2 separate regions of the Homo sapiens genome follow, and region 2 is linked to region 1. The links are contacts of gene promoters, found by promoter capture Hi-C in human tissues and cell types (Jung and others, 2019). All regions are on one chromosome and are shown on one strand. The core of a region is centred on a gene start or on the middle of the fragment in contact, and the rest is flanking DNA. Distances in the headings are between cores, read along the strand shown.

Evidence for each region. The method cuts DNA at HindIII sites, captures the fragments that hold promoters and counts their contacts. A contact is called where the count stands out against the background at its distance.
Region 2: a contact is called between a fragment that was not itself captured here and the fragment with the promoter of IL1RAPL1 in region 1, in 1 of the 25 tissues and cell types used here (hippocampus).

Annotation. Positions count from the first base shown.
Region 1 is chrX:28,582,323-28,590,270 of GRCh38, forward strand. It overlaps IL1RAPL1 (interleukin 1 receptor accessory protein like 1), which reads left to right and starts at 5,124. Exons shown (of 11, transcript NM_014271.4): 1 at 5,124-5,725. The HindIII fragment of the contact is 4,831 bases long and covers 3,105-7,935 here.
Region 2 is chrX:29,223,983-29,231,930 of GRCh38, forward strand. The region is part of intron 2 of IL1RAPL1 (interleukin 1 receptor accessory protein like 1); the gene reads left to right. Among named protein-coding and RNA genes, the nearest start is that of MIR4666B, 350 kb to the right of the region's middle. RefSeq lists an enhancer at 1,447-2,320. The HindIII fragment of the contact is 3,274 bases long and covers 2,640-5,913 here.

The sequences.
Region 1 (7,948 bases), core at 3,874-6,373:
GTCTATTTCAGCAGAACTCTATGCAGAGATCAGAAATTCACCAGGAAATAGGTCTTTGTAACTCCCAAGTTCTGGTTAGATTTTAATAAAATGTAAGCTTTAGGAGAGCAGGAAACTGAACTAGATATATCCATAATGATACCCTCAGTACTTTGAACCATGCCTGGCACATAGTGGGTTTCCAGGGCACATTTCCTGAATCAATTACAATTTTAATATTTCACCCACCTGAAATATTGTTCTGCGGTTTTATTTAAACTGGCTGTCAGCATGGAATGACTTCTGCATTCTCTCCTGGAAGTGGGTGAATTTCCATGGTGAGCCATTCCTCTATATACAGTTTGCAAATCATTTTGGGAACCTTCCAAATGAAAGGCACTGTATAAATATACCCTCCCACCAGCAGCCAGCCGGCTTTCCACCGGGGATGCATTTGCATCGCTTATGTACACAGTGTTTCATTTGGGGCATTGCTTTTATTTTTATGACCATAAAAGAAATATTCACAGTATGAACAATAATGTAAACTGCATTCAAGAAGATATATATTTATATATTTTTATGATTCAAAACTTAGAAATCTGAAAGAAAAGCAGGCATGGCATTTTTCTTTCCTGTTGCTGTTTGCTTTTTCATAGCATTCTTTATTATTCCTGAACTTTATGGTGGAATTTTGCTGAAATGCTCAAGTCTTTGTCTGTACCTCATTTGAGAATATGTGGTGGTGGGTTCAAATGAATATTGCTGGCAAAAGGCCTGAAAATGAAGAGTACTTGATTTTGCATTTATTCAAGGCTATAATAATAGTTTGCTTTAGCGCAGCTTTTTGTGGATGGAGGCTTCTTTAAGGAGAGAAAGAGAAAAAGAAGCAACCTCAGGTATAAAATACCTTCTAAGTAACTTAGCATGATAATCGAAACTTTCACAGATGGAAGAGGCTTTGAAGAGACGTATTTTAGCCTTCAAAACAAAAGGGGGGCTGATTTCATAGAGCATTGTGGGGAGCTAGACTTTGAATTCATATCATATGGAAAATGTTTAGTGAACTTTGAAATAAACTGCCAACAGAATTAAATCAAAACCTCTGTAAATTATGTATTTATCTACATAGAATCATCTGCACACAAAAATGAACTGAATTATAACTTCTTAATTTATACATTTCCATAATTAAATTTAAACTGAATAAAATAACCCAATTCAGACATATTTCCTAACCTTAAGGATATTCTAGCCTTAAGGATTTTATTAAAAAGAGAAGCTACTCTGAATATTCAGAGTAATTTTATATAAAAAGTATCTAAAAAGGTAGATTAAATAAAACTCTTGTTCACTTCACTGAGTGGCTGGCAGCTGAGTAGGCTCTCTTTCTCTCTTTAAAGAAGCCTCCATCCACAAAAAGCTGCGCTAAAGCAAACTATTATTATAGCCTTCAATGACGTGAAATGTGAAGAATTAAATTTCAACTACCAATAGTTAAAGACAGAATCAATAAGAACTTGAGTTCATTTCAGGTGTTGATCATTCTCTTTCGTAAATACCAAATTTGATATTTTCTCACGTTTTACTACTAAAACAATGAAAGTGATTTTTGAAACCTTAACTATAGGATAGTAATATTAGGAAATAGCTCACTCAGTTTATTTTGGGGTTTGTAAAGTGGGGTTATATTCTCCATCTCCCAAGTCAGAATATTTCTGTAGCTAACCTTTAATTTCATACTCCCATTAATACCAACCTTGTTTCATTAAAATGAATCTAATGTACAGTATCTTGACATTCTTCTTTATTACTAGAAAATAAAACAGCAGTTTCTTCAACTGAGAAAAGCTAGAAGCATGGAATTGATCTGCAGCCAGTTTTTACTACAAACCCCATAATGCTTTGCATTATAGCCTACAATCCCCATACTGCAGTGCCAAACCTACAGTTAACCATCATATTACTGGAAAGAAAAAGAACAGAATATTTGAGAACTATGTAGCATGCAAGGATTCTACTTGAATAGTAAATTATCAATTTGTTTCCAGTATTTTGTGATTTGCTTGCCTTTTCCTTTAGTAAAAAAGGCATATTTATGGATATGCACTCTATTTCCTCATCCTCAATATAATGTCGCATATTCTCAAATGATATATCAAGGTATATACTTTCCATGTCAAAGACTCTTTTTTAAAAATATCCATCATTGGGTTGTGTAGTTTTCCACCCTCCTTTGGAGGGAGGTCAGCTTTATTCAGATTTTAAAATAAAAATCACAATACATTGTTGAATGCTCTAAACATCTGCAAATGAGAATTCAGTGAAGTAATTAAAATTCTTAATTAGATGCACCTTGCAGCTGCCGTTAGTCTTAATTGGCAATAATGCAGCTACATTTTGTTCTGACACATATCTTCAGAAGAGTTAGAGAACTGAAGGGAGGCAAGAGGAAAATGTTCCCACACAGTTCAAGATAGTTCGCACAAAGAGGATCCCATGGCAACAAACAGCGAGGCCCACAGTTGGCTCTGTAGGATCCAGGAATAGACAATGCTTCACCTCAGATTCAAACAAACACTTCCTTTCCTGGATCTGATCATTTCATTTGAAATGAAAGCACTTTAAATCATCTCTTGAAATAGGATTGAAGTGGTCAAATGTTCACCTGTGTCCTCGAGATGCTTTTCAAAGCTTCTAGATGCTCTCTGCAGCCCATGTCAAGGTAATAATCATAACTCCTTCTCTGTGTACAGTAACAAACTGACTTGCAGAACATTTCAAAGAGAGGACGTGATTTTTGTACCATATGGAGCTGGACAGCACGTTGGCAACTGGTTAATTTCAACCTGTCATTTTATAGACAAGGAAACTGAGGCCAAGAGAAATTAAAGTGATTCCCTTGGGTAATTATGGCTACTTAGGAGTAGAATTTAGACTCAAATCTAGGATTGGAGCCTACGGTCAAGACGTTTACTTTTAAATTTTGCTTGAAGCAATTACATTTACACTTGTTACTTGTGCCCCCCTCCAGGTCTGCTTGAGGTCTATTCACATTCAACTGGGTCAACTAGAGGACTGTGATGGAAGGTATAGAAAATCTAGATCACTCACGTTGAAAGGAGGGGAATATATTTCCTCTTCACTTCTAATCTTCAGTTTAGGCTGAATTATAGCATGTGGGGAAGAAGCAGAGGGAAGAAAAACACTGGCACAGAAGATGTGAACATGGGTGAGTTAGCTTCAAAGAAACCTTGTAAGACTTGCCTACCGACTTTAACCACATTTTCCCTCTGCTTAGGTTGGAAATTTCAGTGTACTGCTCCTTTTTTCGAAATACAGTTTTACCTCCCTGTCTAGTCTCCCTGCCTGCTGTTATTCTCACCTGCGCGCTTAGTTTGTATTCGTTTAGCTCACATTTTACCTAATTTTTAAAGTGTTTTCTTTATCTTGATGCGTGTTTTACTCCCCAAATTAAAACAGTTCTGAAGGGCCAAGGCTACTTTACCTATTTATTCTATTTTTGGTTTATCCGGTTAAGCCTGCCATTACAAAAGCTTGTGGGATACATTACAAAATGGGTTAAGGTTTTTAAGTACATGGGCTGCCGGTGTTGAATGGGAAAGGTTGCAGGGTGGGGAGAGGGAGAGAAGTAACTAGAAAAGCGGCTCGCTGCCTTTTAATCATCCAGCCTACTCAGCTGCCGGAAACTGACACTGTTGCTGCAGTGTAAACATTAACATTTTTTAAGGGTCTTGCTACTCCAAATGTGGTCCACAGCCCAGCAACATTATTATGGGCCACGGGCGAGCTTATTAGAAACGCAGGGTCTCAGGCCTCACTCCAGATGTACCGAATCCGAATCTGCATTTTAACAAGACACCCAGGTGACGGTGTGTACATCAAAGTTTGAGAATCACGGAATCACATGTGAGTGTTATACTATCCCAATGTAAATGGTCAAGGACCTTAAATTGAGCAAATAACCTAATGTATTTACCCGTACCTACTTTGACCCTCTTTCTTCATCACAAATTCATCTCAGAAACCAGCAGCGAACTCTTTTGCAGGGAACTCAATTACGCGGTGGATGGGAGGAGGATCCTCTTCAATACCCTCCCCTCCGCTCCTCCTCCCACTCCCCACCCCCACCCCGCACTCCCAGAGAGCCTTCCACAGGCACCCTTCTCCCAAGCCCCACTCACTTAGGGAAGATTTTGCTCCTCCCCCAAACTGAAAGCGCGGCTGTGAGGAGGGTTACTGCTTGAAGGACTCACAGTTTGCATATCAATACAGACAGAGGCACTTTTGCAAAACTGCCCTTTAGAAACAATTATCATCTTAGCACCTGAGGTTTGTTTGGAGCAGCCCCCGCACCCCTTCTCTCTTGTAATCCATCTTAAAGTGATACGGAGAATGGGGGCGTTGGGGAGACAGTGATGGGGGTGGGAGGGTCGCGCGCAATAATAAATCTGCTTCAAAGAGAAGAGATGAAAAGGAGGTTATCAAGAGTGTGTCGGCTTAGGCATCACTCTCTGTATCTTTCTGCTTCCTAGAGAAATGGAACCATAATTCTAAGGTGGCTAAGGCAAGACTGTATAAGCATCCAAATTTGCCAGTCTGCTTTTGCCTGGAAGAACAGATTTCCGTTATTTGAAGCCTCCCAGGGTCCTTTCCAAAAGATTCCCAGGCTACCTTCCTTCCACTTCGGTCTTCTGAGAACTCAAACTCGCAAAGCGGTGGCTGTCTGTGGATTGGCTAGTACTAAAATATCCATTGGGTGGCAGTAATACTATCCTCTTTATGACTTGCAGCAAACCAGAGAATGCATTCAATCAAATGAACCGATCTTGTAGAAACACTGGAATCATTTATGCGTTGCAGTTTCTCTTTCTTGTTTTCGCTCCTTCTTCCCTGGGATATTTTGAGTGGATTGTGGCTATTAATCAAGATCTCGTGCTATTCGTGTTTTGCTTGTGGTTTTCGCTCAGGATTAGCATCATTCAAGGCAAACGCAAAGCTGCTTTTCCCACCCCCCCCCCCGACTCTTTTTTGAAAAATCATTTTTGGGGGCTGCTGAGGAGAGCTAGGACCCAGGAGACACCTTCCCAAACAGCAGGGGTTGTGTGCTTTCACATAGCAGTACTGTACAAGGAAAACCCCGTCGGATCTGTTATTGCGGGATACTTGTGAAATATACATAGGATTCTTTCTTATGGCTGCATCCCGGATCTGGAAATTTTACTTGGGGACCAGGAGGATTTGAAAGGCTGCATGTACTCAGAAGATTTGCAAGCAACACTCCAATTCTTGTCATAGAGCTCGCAGACTTCTCACTTATCGGCTTTTTTCCTTCCTTATTTTTTAAGAATTATTCTTATTTTCCCCTCTCTTTTTCTGCTCTCTCCTCTCTCAGTCTCTCCTTTTCTATCTGCCTCTTCATTTTTCTCCTAGTCTGTTTTTTTTTTTCCTGCTCTGCACCTGGATTGTATCTTCAGCAAACAATCGGGCACTTTGAGAACTAACTGGAGACAGTCTTGTAGGGAAGATCTGTATGGAATTATCTGCTTTTATGGTGAACTTGGCATTTGTGAATGGGAATCTTGTTCACAATATTAATTGCTAGCAAAAACAAGAAAAAGAACACAGGAGTAAAACGTGGATTTTTCTGAATACGCATTGTGATGACCAGCAATTACCTTACCGACTAATATCCAGAGGAGAATAATTTGGAAGACTGTTGTGGGTAAGGTCATTTTATATATGCAAACCCATCAGTGGCATGAGCAAACTTGGGCATTTGTAATGGGAATGGGTGACTTGAATGATTGCTGCATCGCATTGATGGCTGTGATGTGGCCGTTATTGGCACTGAATGGAATAACTGCAGTTGGGTGTGTTGATATGTGTGTGTGTGTGTGTGTGTGTGTGTGTGTGTGTGTGTGTATGTGTGTGTGCGTGTGTGTGTATATGTATGTGTGCCCGTATTCTGAGTGCAATTGAAAATCAAAGTATCACTCTCTCCCCCAATTATTTTGATATGGAAGAGTGTCTTGAATTAATTCTGGGTAGACACTCTTTGTTTGAATGTAATATTTGTGGCCCCTGCGTTCTGGAAGGGGTAGCAGCAGTAAAAGAAACACTTAGTGAAGAGCCCCATTTAAAATGAAACGAGCTACTCTCTATGCATTAAAAGAAATATGTTTTCAACTCAGTGCAGCATTCTGCTGCATTTCACAGCCGCAATGGGACCAGGGACATCCCACTTGTCAAGTTCTTAAACTTTAAGGTGATAATCATCGTTAATTGTTCTCTAGGTTGTGGTTACTGGAGATTATTAAGCGCCCTGGGCTACTTTTTTATCTACTGGATTATCACTCAGAGTGAAAAAAGGAAAAGAAAAGAAAAAGCTAAAAATGATGGCTAACATAGAGAAGAATAAGGCAACATTATCTTAAATATCACCACAGTGCTTTCTTTCTCAAGTTCAATTGCCCAATAATATAATTATTTACCCAATATCCTAAATAGCTGAAGCTGAGACCCACGTGCAGGGGAGTCGAAGGTCTGAAAGCAGAGACCGTCCTTTTATTGCAATGCAGCCAGCTTGGGAAATGCAGGCAATTAATTACATACTTCCCCTAACCTTAAGTTGAAGATGTGTCCTGTCTGCTACATCTATTTTACCCTTTCGGTAAAAAGTTAGAGACTAGAACACTAAGGATGTTTAAGCATATTCTGCCTGGGAAATGGGATAAAGAAATCAATATTGATGACGTGGTTCAGTGCACTGTACTGCAATGCTAAAGTTCCATATTCAGTGCCTGTGATGAGAGAGTGGAGCATTTACATATGTTATAAATCTCACCTGGTAGATTGATCCAAAGGGGAGGGGAGAAGATATGTGGATATGTAGGAAGATGGATGGAAGTCGTGCATAATCGGTGATTATGTAACTTCATTACATCAGCGAGTTTCAGTCAACGATAGTGAGATGAGATGATTGTATAGAGAGAGGCTCCATCACCCTGTTAACTTTTGAAGGCTTGTAACAGCTAACAGAGGAGGAGGGCAGAGAGAGATTAGCTCCAAGGGTCCTGTAAACCTTGATCTCTATGGCAAATTTTGCATGAGTTTTCTCATAGTGAGTTTCGGAGGGACATCAGATCATATAAGCTTTAGGGCTGGACAGGACCAATTTTAGCCACACCCGTGGAGAGTCAAAATGAGTCTGCGATGTTTCAGAAGTGCCCCATTGAGTAACTGGGACTGATGATTCCAGCCAAGGTCATAGTTCTTTACCCTAGGATTGAAATATATGACCCCAACTGAATGGAAAGTTAAATTCATTGAAATGATGACTGTGAACGGAATGAATATTTAGGGTCCTTTCTTGCATTTTTCCTGGTAGAGCTTGATGCAGATTTCAGCCTGGTGGTTCCCTCATAAAAATGATGATTGCTTCCACAGCGTGTCAGAAATGACTGTTTTGTCCCTTTATCTTAACCATGACAATCTCTTTCTGGGCCATTTTAACCTTCTGGGAAAAGAGAAGTAAAAGCATTCAAAGGTAACAGTACCCTGTTAAATTACAAATTAAATGGCACTGGATTCATTATTAACACAAATCCCAGAAAAAAAGAGCAATCCATGTTCAAGTTTCACTTATTGAATGGCTTAAAAGACAGGTTGCAGCTGCCAAAGACTTTTACCATCATATGAGATAAATGTACTGTGCTCACTGTGCAGAGAAGGGAATACTGCAGAATAAAATGTCATTTTCCCTCATGTTTTATCTGGAGTTGTGATTTTTTTTAAAGAAGATACACATCAGGTCCTTTTGGCCTTCTACTGTTTTAGGATCTGTTTTCTCCTCAATAGATCACATATTCACAAAAAATGAAACTTCTGAAATCCTAACCCTGTTCAGTTGAATCACCTTATTATCTAGTTGTGCTATTTCCTATTT
Region 2 (7,948 bases), core at 3,027-5,526, 640 kb after region 1:
CGCACACACAATGTTAAGATCCTCAGGACTATATTGTAATACCTTGCATATTATTGTTCACTTGTTTTCCATGTAAAATGTTTACACCATTAGAACAGGTTTTGTTTCAGAATGATAACCTCCCAGACTGATTCAGTAGGGACTAAATTAATATGCATCTAATTAAATTGAAATGAAACAAAGCCCCGAGATACGGACAGAATTTCAGATGGTAATTTTGAGAACACCTTTAGCATTTAGTAAGGTGGTACTCTTTAAACTCATGCTATGTTGTCAGTATTAACATTTCCAAAGTCACTAGGTTTAAATTTTAGAGACTTACTTTCTGACTACCGGCTCCAAGCATTTATTTTAGCCTATGTGTACAAACATTCAGACTGGCTATGTGATGGAAAAGTAAAAAAAAAAAGATGACTTTTGTCCTGGCCCTCAAAATCTTATAGCTTAAGATCTAATTCTCCAAAAGTAGACAAAAGTTGCTTGAGTATTGGGTTGCACTTGTTTGTATAGTTTTTATTCAGATAAGAATAATGAAGACTCTTGTTCTCTCTTTCTATCTATTCCTTTATAATAATAGTAATCATCATCATCATCTCAGGCAACAGCATCCTCAATGCGGTAAATTTTGCCTATCATATAAAAAATACATTTGAATATATAGTTGTATCATGTTTACTTTCACTTTTTTGTAACATTTCAAAAAGTATTATTCTGCTATGACATTTTTTGGGCTTAGTCATAGAACAAATGTGAGCTGTTAGGGAACTTTAAATGTCTTAGTTTTATTGTTTATTTATAACTAAAGAGCATTTTTAGTCTACTGTAAAGGCAAGTTATCATATGCTAAACAACATAAAAATGACTGAATATTAAAGTTAAAACTTTTTTATGAGAAAATGAGAGACCCCTATGTGATTTATTTTAAAATAATCATTGCATATGCCCTCACACAGAAAATCAGAATGGTGTGATTGTTGCCTGCATGACCAAAATCGATTCTGCCTCCTTTGTGGTTAGCCAACACAGTGACTTCAGCACCTAGTAGACACAGGTTGTGTAGTTGTAGTGGTGCATCCTTAGTGTTATGCTCTCCATTGCTGGCAGGACAGATTCTTTCATGCTTGTCTTCTTTAAAGCATTGACTTAATTTTTCAACTGAAAACAGTAAGTGACAAATGGAGCACAGAGTATTTTAGAACATACCCAGAAAGAGCACTTAAAGACAATAAGAAATACTCAAATAATTGAAATAGGAATATTTTTATTATTATGTCATTAAACTAGCTGGTGCTTATCTGACATTTCCATGTTAGACATCCGTGCTTATCTAACATTGTAATGTTCCACGTTCCAAGTCTGTTTTATCTTGACCTGTGCACTATTAAGTACCAGCAGAGAGTGATCAATATTATTGTCCAAAGCAGTGCATCACAACCTTTACTGGGCACTGGAAACACCTGAGGATCTTGTTAAACTGCAAATTCGGATTCAGACATGAGGCTGAGAGTCTTGTAAAAGAAAAATTGAACAGATCGGTTAAACAGGTAAAGTAGACTTTATTGAGGACTGTTGTAATAGGAGAGAGTTTCATCTCAACTCTTCCACTGAAGCAAAAGGTGAAAGGATTTTTAAATGCTGGGGTGAGCTAATGGAAAAGTACTGGAGGACATAGGCAGGATGGAGAATGTGATTGGGCTGGTTAATATGATTAGGCCACCTGTGTTTGCTAATGGTACCTTATCAAAGTTAGGCTCCTACACTCCTATAGAGACTGGGAAGTAGGGCCCTATCTTTCTTGATGATTACATTTCAAAGGATTGGCGCCCAGGTCCTTGAGAAAGAATTTCCTAGGTTGTAGAAGGTTTACATCTGAAAGGGGCAGAGAAGGAATTTACAATTGCAAATTTTCCAAAGTAATCGCTCTACAAAAAAGGAGGTAATAGGCCTATCTATAGTCAGAAAGAAGCTTGTCTAAAGTTGGGAGGGGGGGACCATTAAGGCCATTGTGGTCAGTCAGTATTTCTACAAACTCCCAGGTGGTGTCAATGCCATTGGTCTGCAAACCACAGGTCTGCACTGTTACACTGATAGGAAAGATTCCATATTGATGATTCATGTTAACGCATTTTCTAGCTTATACAGTGTACTGTATATAGAAGTGTGTATTTGAAATGGTCAATACCATTGTCTGTCTAGATGGATAATAAAAGTTGTTGTGTACAATATTTATAGAATGATATCTTTTCATACTTCTAGAGGCCTACTCAGAACATCTGAGTCTCTCCTGATGAGATGAAATTTGGAATAAGTTATGTCCCAGAATTCAGGACACATTTGATGTTTAACTTATTTCACTATGAGAAAAGTAGTGTTATAATGATGTTCCACAGTTGTATTTTGTTTTAATTATTCTCATTAAGCCCCTAGCAAACAGGTTGCTTCATCATTTTTTTCTTTCTTTCTTTTTTTTTTTTTTTTTGAAATGGTGTTTTGCTCTTGGAATGCAGTGGCACAATCTCGGCTCACTGCAACCTCCGCCTCCTGGGTTCAAGCAATTTTCCTTCCTTAGCCTCCCGAGTAGCTGGGATTACAGTGCCCGCCACCACATCTGGCTAATTTTTTTTGTATTTTTAGTAGAGACGGGGTTTCATCACGTTGGCCAGGCTGGTCTTGAACTCCTGACCTCAGACGATCCACATGCCTCGGCCTCCCAAAGTGCAGGGATTACAGGCGTGAGCCACTGTACTGGCTGATTCGTCCATTTTTAACAGATGAAAAAAAAACTGTAATCAATTTTGGTCAGTGACAGTGCAAAAAATGCAATTTAATACTACAAATACTTATTACCTGATAAAGTTCTCAAATAATGAGCTAAAATAGAATGGATATGCCAAAACTGTAGCAAATCATTAAAGACAAAATAATAACATTCCAGGGACTTAAAACAAATTGAATTCTCCAAAGAACATTATTATAAACTAATATTCCTAATTGCATAGGAATGGAAGATTTTTTTTTTTTTAATGTTAGTCATAGGAGTTTCAAGACATTTGAATCACCTGCGTGGACACTGGCTTTTATCCTATTAAATTTAATGTGGTAATTTAGAGTGTTTTTATTAGAATAATCAACATTCTAAAATGCAATCATTAGCATATTTGGCATAGAAAATAGATCTGAAATGAACCCAAAAAATGAGCTTTAAAAATTGCTAAAACTAGCAGTGTATAATGGTAACACAATCCAAAGGTCAAAAAACACAATGATTAATTAAAACTAAAGAATAATAATTAATTAGTAGTATTAAGAAAGCTTTGCCTCCTTTTCAAAAAAAAAAAGCTAAAAAGGAAAGTTGTTGAATGTTATTGTTTTTAAAGACCAGCTTTTCATGAATGAAGTTTTTAATCCTTTCAAAGCCTAATCTAAATTTAAGAATTCAAACAAAAAATCCCTAATATTTTAATTTGCAATCAGGAGAGGTTCAATCAGACTAAGACTTTTTAATTTGACAGTCTCCTTTTTAACACATAGAGCTACTTCTTTGATCTGCCTTGGTTAATGAAATGGATGAGTTCCAATAAATTTGGATGCAAAGTAATAATCAACAGAATTCCATTTCCCATTGATTTTCATTGTAAACTTGTATCACTTTTTTGACATAAAATAAGCACTCTCTGGAATGAATAATTTAATTTGAAATATGAATAAAAAATAAATTATGGTGCAGAATATTGCTAAGTCCTTCATACATTTGCAGCACTTTGCATCTACCACTGCTTACTTCCTAGACAGAGAACCATTTCCTATAATAATAGCTAAAACCCATGAAGGATTTCCTATCTGGAAATAGTTTCTATAACCTTTACATCTATTCATCTTCATGATTACATTGTTTAATGGGTACTATAGAGATCGTCAGCATCCCCATTTTACATAAATTGTAAGTGCCAGAGTTTTGGTTTAAACCAGGTTGTCTGACTCCAAACTCTTCACTTAAAAAATATATTTTATTTTTATAGATAATAATACAAATACTGAAAATATTTACAAAACAAATTTACAGGTAATGAACACTCTTATTACTAATGAAGGCAAATGCCTTTATTACTATCCTTGATGTCAGAAGCTAGAACCTTGCGAGCCATTCCAGAAACTTTCCACGTGCCTTCTTATAACCATCTCCGGACACACGCGTGCACACACACACACACACACACACACACACACACACACACACACACAACTGTGACCATTATGATGATTTTATTTTTTGGAATGGCATCCTTACTTTTCTTCATAGTTTTGTCACTCAAATATGCATCCCTAAACACTGTAGTTTAGTTTTGCCTAGTGTGTGTGTGTGTGTGTGTGTGTGTGTGTGTGTGTGTGTGAGACAGAGTCTCACCCTGTTACCCAGGCTGGAGTGCAGTGATGCGATCTCTGCTCACTGCAACCTCCGCCTTCTGGGTTCAAACGATTCTCCTCCCTCAGCCTCCCGAGTAGCTGGGATTACAGATGCGTGCCACCACACCTGGCTAATTTTTGTATTTTTAGTAGAGATGCGGTTTCACCATGTTAGCCAGGCTGGTCTCAAACTCCTGACCTCCTGATCCACCCGCCTCGTCCTCCCAAAGTGCTGGGATTACAGGCGTGAGCCACCGCACCTGGCCAGTTTTGCCTAATTTTTAAAATCTATTAAGTTTCTTTTAATCTATAGGTTTCTTCCTTTATCTTTTTCTTTTATTTAAACAGTATATGTGTTGAGGAAGCTAAATAGTTTGTTCTGTAGTCTTCCGTGGACTGGCTTTTGCTGCCTGTGTTTTTGTGATGCAATTTGTTTTGTTTCACTATCATCCGTATTCCCTATCTGCCTTGTTGCCTTGCCTGAAGATCACCAAATTTCAAGGACTTCTTTCCTGCTCTGCTCCAAGGCACTTCTCAGCCCACTCTGGATGTGCGTGGGTGGTGGCCAGTAGAGGTGGGCTGCAATTACTGGCTTCTTTAGTAAGAGCTGTGAGGTTACATATATTCAACTCTGGGTTTCTAAAGGCCCATCCAAGGACAAGTTCCAGGGAAGATAGGGCATGCATGAGTTTGAGGCAGAATGAGAAAAATAAGCAACATACAATACATTTTTTCATAAAATTAAATTTCTCCTTTTAAAGAAGTGTTCTTTATTATATTTCAGTTAGCCTACTGTTTCATTGGCATCGTTTCCCTTTCATTGTTTGTATTTTTGTTTTGGTGAAACAAAAAATTAGAAACCCAATGTCAGTCTTTGTTCTCTTCTTATGATGCTAATTTCCAAAATTGAAAAGTGTTGGAAACTCTGCTTTAGCCTTAAATTTTCTGCAGAAAATTACATTTTGAATTTTCATAAAAGAAATTATTGGTCTTAACCCATTCTGTATGATAATTTTTAAAAAAAAAAAACTCTCTAAAGTGTACCTTGAAAAATAGTACCTGTGATTTGTCTAAGCTTTTGAATAATTCATTCTATCTCAAATGTATTTCTACCACTAAAGTTGCTATACCACTTTATGGAAAGAAGAAAAGCAACTTTCCTTTTTTGTACAGGAAACTTGAAAGTTCATCTCATGGAAGGTGTGGAGAGAAAGGTGGCTATGTAATTCTCCTTTGGATATTTCTGGATCTGTTTCTCAATCAGATTGGTTCCGTTCACACTGCCTGCTGTCATGAAAGTTTATGCCTCGCATGCAATGCCAGCATAAATTTCTCAGCACAAAACAGCTCTGCTTGTTAAGGAAGATGTTCTGAATTATCAAATATATATTTTTTAATTAGCCACCCTTTCTTATGCTTTCAGAATATATATTAAAGTGATCTGGGGTATTTCATGTTAATGTAAGAAAAACAATCCAAACTCCCTTTGTTTCTTGACTTAGCTTATTATATCTTCAGTACTTGCAAACTGTGTGATACATGATCAGTCACAGCACACTGCTATTTACTGAGCATCCATGGCCACTGGCTGACGTGGCATTGAATATAACATTGTATTGTTGCTCTAAGCCTTTTAGCCTTCGTGCTAAATGACTCAACCCATCACAAGAAATTTATAATGGACATATAACTCACCTAGTTAGTCTGCATGAGATTGATTTGTTGTGAAGTTATTGGCTATAATGTCTTTGAGAGGATAGGCCTTCATTTCAAATAAAGACAGCCTCATTTATGGATTTCAAAGCATGTCTATACACTGTAAGTCTGTATTAAAGAAATGGGATGAAGCCAGCTGTTAAAAACAAGAAAATATGTGCAAAAGGATTTGGAGTTGACTGTATTATATAGAAGTATTAAATTAGGAGCTTTAGGGCATACTGAAGCTTCATATTGTTTGAAAGTTTATTTTGAATTCTGTAGAAAAATGAGTACTGTTAATTAGGTGATGTGGTTTCAGCATTCTCAGGCGTCTGCTCCCCACAGTATCAAAACCTTTGCCCAAGTCCACTCACTTTATTGTGACCCCTGTAGATGCTCTATCATTATGGTCCCTTTACCAAAAAAAAAAAAAAAAAAAAAAAAAAAAAAACCTTGTTGTCTCTCAGGCAACCAGCGCTTTTTGTCAGCCTATTTCATCTCCCCATCCCTTCCTACAATCGTTTATACTACTGAAAACTTGAAAGCCCACATCCCATTCTCTCCTGGATCTCTAGGCCTACCAAAGTTTCTTTCTAAAACCATGAAATGACCACAAGTTAATTTGATGAAGTGATTCATAATAAATTGTTAATAAGAAGTGACCTACAACTAGGTCAGGTCATTCTTCAACCACCTATTTTATTAGTGATCCCCCACAGGCAATACATGTGACTGAAGCTGGAATTTGAACTTTCTGTGATGAGGGCCCTGTAGCGTATATGTGAGACCTCTGGTAGCAGGAGTCTCTGAGAGCCTCTAACTCATGGTAGTCTGAAATAGACATAGGCAAAGCCCCAGGGACATTTTTAAGAGAGCTGTTGTAAGTAATCCAGTATTATAAGTTAAGTCTGTCCTGTATTCATCAGAAAAAAACAGAATCTGCTGCTACAAGATATTAGGATTTCTGGTCTTAAGCAACAGACTTGAATTTCACTACCTGGATTCTTCTCTTTGGCTTCATGTTTGCAGATAGGATGGTTGAGGAGGATGGAGCTATTGAGAGGGTGGCTGCTCTGTGCAGTTGCTTTTGTTTATATTCTTACTGACCTGGCACAGTGTAGGTGGAGGTGATGCATGTTTTCTGACATTGGGCCAGTGATGTATGGCCTGACCTTCAAAATGAGAAACATCATCTCTGTGGGTGAGACTATAGCCGTGCAAATGCTTTTATCCCATATTGCTCAGCAGTTTGCAACCGGTTCTGATAAAAAGCACCCACCCCGCTGAGTTCGCTGAAGCTTGTATATTGGTTTTAGGTTGAACATTTTGGCAAATTAACGACTGAGTGAAACCATAAAATTGGTTTTATTTACAACAAAGCCTTGTGGTGTCTGTTGGTTGTTCTTACATCTCTTTCCTTTAATCTTTGAGGTTGTTTCTGTAGGTGGCTTATCTAACTTTACATTGAAATTTGCATTCATTTCAGGATAATACTTCCCCTGGGTTTCTTCTTAATTGACATTGGACATGGTCTGCATTCTCAAACTTTGTGCATAAAGTTGGTAACTATACAGAGTCCTAGTTTACGCCTACCCCAGGTGATTCTGATTCGGGAGATGTGAGATGGAAACCCAAACTACACATTGTTAGTCAGTAGGTGACTCCCCCAGTGTGAATCTACTGATCTCATGTTTAGAAATACTGCTGTATACCATGCAAAGCTGTCATTTTCTAACTCTGCTAAACAATAAAGGTTCACAAGCCATACTTCTGATTTGCCATAAAGTTCGAGTTTTTCTCCATTTGGTTCAATGGTGTTGCTATGGATGGCATTCATAGCAAATGA